Linked DNA regions of Homo sapiens: region 2 is linked to region 1. Evidence: promoter capture Hi-C in 16 types of primary human blood cells and fetal thymus (Javierre and others, 2016). All regions are on one chromosome and are shown on one strand. The core of a region is centred on a gene start or on the middle of the fragment in contact, and the rest is flanking DNA. Distances in the headings are between cores, read along the strand shown. Region 1 holds the start of CSTF2 (cleavage stimulation factor subunit 2). Region 2 has its middle 4.0 kb from the start of ZMAT1.

What was found. Contacts are between HindIII fragments. The CHiCAGO score rates a contact against its expected background, and 5 or more counts as called.
Region 2: a contact is called between a fragment that was not itself captured here and the fragment with the promoter of CSTF2 in region 1, in 2 of 17 cell types (activated CD4 T cells and total CD8 T cells). The highest score is 5.7, in activated CD4 T cells.

The regions. Positions count from the first base shown.
Region 1 is chrX:100,819,094-100,821,700 of GRCh38, forward strand. CSTF2 (cleavage stimulation factor subunit 2) reads left to right here and starts at 1,298. Exons shown (of 14, transcript NM_001325.3): 1 at 1,298-1,381; 2 at 2,434-2,512. The coding sequence starts at 1,324. RefSeq lists enhancers at 970-1,029, 1,040-1,089, 1,370-1,529. The HindIII fragment of the contact is 13,366 bases long and covers 1-1,404 here.
Region 2 is chrX:101,934,702-101,937,308 of GRCh38, forward strand. No RefSeq gene overlaps it. Among named protein-coding and RNA genes, the nearest start is that of ZMAT1, 4.0 kb to the left of the region's middle. The HindIII fragment of the contact is 2,051 bases long and covers 275-2,325 here.

The DNA.
Region 1 (2,607 bases), core at 48-2,547:
AGTCATGGAAATGGGTATACTCTTCTCAAACTTTCCATCTTTACCAGAATTACTTCTTAAAGTGATATGCTTCATGGTGTAAACTAGCACTTATTAATTTTTTCTAAATATTTATCATATTTCATATACTTTTATTTTGGAGATGGAGTTTCGCTCTTGTTGCCCAGGCTGGAGCGCAATGGCAGATCTCGGATCACCGCAACATCCATCTCCCGGGTTCAAGCGATTCTCTGGCCTCAGCCTCCTGAGCAGCTGGGATTACAGGCATGCGCCACCACGCCCGGCTAATTTTGTATTTTTAGTAGAAAAGGGGTTCTCCATGTTGGCCAGGCTGGTCTCCAACTCCCGACCTCAGGTGATGCGCCCGCCTCGGCCTCCCAAAGTGTTGGCATTACAGGCATGAGCCACCGCGCCCGGCCCATATACTTTTAATACATGTGGAATTAATAAAAACGTCCATGCCTCCAATTCCGTGGCTATTTTACCGTCTTCCTTTTTCGGACAAGTCCCTCAAAGGTAGCGCTCTTGGCTCCTTCCTTTGCTTATCCCCTAACCCTGTCCTCCTGAGGTGCCCCCTGGATTTCCTCCAACCCCGGCAGGGTCTGCCTTTCCGGGATGATACAACGACCTGCCCTGCATGCCATATCCCAGGCGCGTGGGCACCAAAGTGTGGAAAAACCGATGAATGACGTTTTCTGTTTCCGATACTCTGCCTGCCAGAATCCCCTGCCGCACCGCCCCACCACGAAGCACATGGAACCCACGGACTACACGAGGACAGAGGTCTGTTCTCCCTTTACCTCTCCCATTTCTTTAACTATGCTTCTCTCGGCTGGCATGCCCTTTCCTCATCTCACTCCACACACGAACAGGTTTAGCAAATAATATGCACGCTGCTGGGACGGGCCCAAGCATTTCCCTCCCTTGATAGGGCGGAACTAAAATGCAAGCCCCACAGTTGTCAGCAAAGGACTTCCCTGTTACCATGGTAAAGCCGCTGCGCCTTTATTGTGGTTGAGGAGTACTTGCATCAACCTAAGAGAAAATTAATAAGAAGGAAGTCTGCAGGCTGAAACCCTTCAAATTAGCCTGGACTCGCCTGCATCTGGCTCGGAACAGAGTTAATCTCAGGAGTGAGAATATAGCCCTCCGGTGGACGCAACTCGCGCCTGCGGCTAACAGAATGTCTCCAGGGGAGGGGCTCTGCGTCCGTTCCGCCCAGGCCCTTCCGGCTCACGCGCCGTACGGAAGCGTGCTCAGCGCTGGGCTTGTGCTCCGTACGGAAGTGTGCTTTGGCGCACCGGAAGCCGACTCAACAGAGCTATGGCGGGTTTGACTGTGAGAGACCCAGCGGTGGATCGTTCTCTACGTTCTGTGTTCGGTGAGAGGAATTCGTTGTAGTCAAGCTTCGGGGAGGGACTCCCCTCTGCACCTTCTATCTCATGAATCGCTACCGGAGCCGCTGACGGTTCGGACGTGCAGTTCTCCCTGCTTATCCTGTAGGGCGTCCAACCTGGTGGACTCATGAGCAAAGAGATATTCCCATTCTGCCGAGGTCTCGTAGGCTTTCCGCAATATCAGTGGGGAAGTTAGACTAGCGTTCAGCTTCTGTGCGTTTCTCCTTTCATGAGCTTCAATTATTCTCTAGAGGAGAAGGCTCACGGTAACAGCTCCTCACTGTCCCGTACTACTTCTCATCCTCTGCCCCAGAATACAGACTATATGCTGAGGGTATAGATCCTAGTGTCCACTTACTGTCCTCTCCTAAGGACTTTCATCCTTTGCTTTTTATCTGTAACATTTTAGTGCATCAATAGTGGTAGCGGCCACCTGGTGTCCTGAGATGGCTTGTAAGTGAATGAATGAATGAACTATTAAGATCTCCTCAGAGGAATTTTAAAAAGGATCGAAACGATTCTGAATTATCTTTTTGGCTGAAATAAGTTGTTTTTAAAAATACGTGTGATTATTTTAGAGTACCATTTGAAAGGGACATGACAAAGTAGTTCAGAATACTTTTTAAACATCTTTCACTACATTCATCGTCATTCTCCCTTAAATGTTGTATGTGTGGAAATACATAGGAACCTGTTTTAAAAATTATATTAAATAACATTGATATTTTTTGTAGTCACTGATGAGACTTGCAGATCTTTAGGTAAATACCAGTGCCAAAGTATTTATTTGCACCAAAGTTAAGGAAAATCTAACACGTGTCAGATCAGTCTGAGAACTAACATTTGAGAGTACCTACACATTTTGTATTTAGTTTCAGTGGTATATTTCCTTTGTTAAGAGGTCTGAAGAAATACAATGGAATTGGGATTGGAGAACACTATTTTGAGTCTTATATTTGATGATATAAGTTTACTTTCTCACTAAAGATCTATGTTATAAACTCAGAATTTTAATGTTACCTATTTTCTTCCTTAGTGGGGAACATTCCTTATGAAGCTACTGAAGAGCAGTTGAAGGACATCTTTTCTGAGGTTGGACCTGTTGTTAGTTTCAGGTGAGATCCCCTTTTCCTTCATGGTGGGAGCTTCTTAAAAATCACCACAGATTTGGCTCTTAGTAATAATGGCAGGTTTTCTTTACTGGTGACTT
Region 2 (2,607 bases), core at 50-2,549, 1.1 Mb after region 1:
ATGGGGTGTGATTTTATTCCTTCTGATATGGAGGGATCTCTCAAAAACATTGTTTTTTGAAATATGAATCACAATCCACTTAGGTAAGAAATATTCATTCAGAATCTCTGGAGGAGTGGGCATCACTCAAGATTCAGTCAGCAAAAAAGAAACTACACTAGGTATTTCAAACAGAAAATATTTAATGTAGAATATCAGGTACTTAAAAGAATCAGAAAGGTTAAAGAAGTAAAATCCAGGAGACTTACGCAGATAAGGTCATCTGGCAGTTGGAAGCTTTTTCATCCTCGTCTATGTTCTCTCCTTTGTTGCAGAAGCTGGAATCCTGTGAATTACATTTCCTAAACTTCTTGCCAGCAGGATTCTGAATATGGTTTAGGTATCACCAATGCTATGTATTTGTATGATATTTTTTAAATAGAAAGGAAATAAAAACTGTTCTTTATGTGGAATCTGGCAGATATAAAACAAATTTTTTTTCAGACCCTAGCATTCTTCTGTAAGTCTTGTACTCAAAGGCTTTGGAGGATCTGTGAGATTAGCAGTGGTTTTCTGCAGTTCCCTGACCTCTGTCTGACAGTAACAACTATATCAGTCAACAAATATATATTAAATTATGGAATTACTTTGTCCTTCTTAGGATCCACGGAAAATTCTGTCTCTGCCACTTTAACAGTAAAAAGAAGTGGTAGGATAATGCACAAAATAAAATAAAATTATTAGTTAATTTTCTCCCCATCCTTCAGCTGCATTTGGTGACATGCCATAACATGAAAATGCCACCAAACCTCAGTCATGCACTGTGACAATAAGCACACACTTCCCTTTCCCTCCTCTTATACTTATCATTGCTCTCAATGACAGTAATGTTATTAAGTGAATGCCAATGTAATTTATCTCACAGGAAAGAGGAGGTGGAATATAGCACAGAGTAGCAATTAAGGAAAGCCTGCTATGGGCCAGATGTTTCCTAGAATTTCCCAGTCTTCTCACAAAAGTGATGTTATATTGGGCTCATTAATTCCATTTAAAAACGCAAAACTCAGTCTCATGAGTGTAAATAACTTCTCCATGGTTCTTTACTTATTGATTAAAATGGTCTGTTTATATCATTGACCCACAGGGAGGAGACTGTATTAATTGAAATGAATTTCAACTACCAATCCCCCAAATCATAGAAAGGAAACAAGGGTGGGATTAGGGGAGGGAAGTTGCGTGTAAGGTAGGGGTAGAGGTGCTAAAAAGAAATGAGAGAATATTTTTGCATATGTGAGAAATCAGCAAAAAACAAAAAGCATACCAGTGGTCATTTCACTATATTTGCAGTGAAATATAAAATACCTCATTTGGAATAATATGGGGAAATTGAAAAGCCATTATCAACAAACACAATACATTTAAAGGCATCAGAAAATGGGAGAAATAATCCAAACAGAATTTAATAGCATATAAGTAATATGACTGACATAGGCATGAATCTGACTAGGTATAATAGTAATGTTTAATTTTATTAACAAATGATTCAAAAGTGAGAAGCAATGGCAAACATCCAAAGTTGTTTAACAATACTAAAATTAAAGACAAATAAAAAGATACATTGAGATATACAAATAATCACCTCCCAAAGGCACTACCACTTAACACTATTACATTGACAATTAAGTTTCAACATATGAATTTTGGGGAACATTCAGACAATAGCAGTATGTATAATGTGACTCAATTTTGAACAAAAATGTATTTGCACATATGAACATATAGCCTTGGAATTATATATAAACACACATAAAATATATCTGGAAAGTATATATGAAAATACTATGAGTAGATAGCCTGTGGTAAGTCAGGCTTAAGATGAAACTATATGCTAATTAATGCATATATTTCCCCATTGTTTCAGGATTAATAGTGATAGATAAAATTACAATAGTACAGGATGTACCTGGTAGGGAATGGAAGTTATAGAAATTTATCTTTATTGATATGAAATGTTGTCAAATGTATATACATACATATATTTAAATGAAAAAGAAGTTATACAGAACTTTTATAAAAATAGATCTGTGTATGCCTAATGTATTTGTCTCATAGTGTACACTTTCATATATTCTCATTCTTGTTCTCTGCTCCCTACCCTCATCACAGACACACGCACATGTTGTCAGCCTAGAGAGGGTCTGAAGGAAATATCCTAGCATGTGATTTCGTATCCAGATCTATGCCAGAATCACTCTTAATGTTTCCTTTCTATGTAAACATCTAGAAAGTTCCAGAACATTCTCACTGTTTGACTTTAACCATAGGGAAGTGTCTTCCTTTAACCTAAGCTTCTTTATAATTGGTTAAAGGAAGAATGTAGTTAGACATTGGTCACTTAATCATTCTGTGGAGTATGGAGTCGGTGAACGATTTCATCACTCCATTTTCCTTTGTTTCATGTGCCTTTCTGATCTCTGATTTTTATATTTTATGTTATTCATCCTCTTTATATCGCCATGCAGGTCTTGCTTTAAAAGGCATCAACTTTCCTTCCAGGTGGTGTCTAGAGTTGTTCTTTTGGATAAAAACTGTTCCCCGCATTCAAGTGACAATGAAGATAAATAAAAG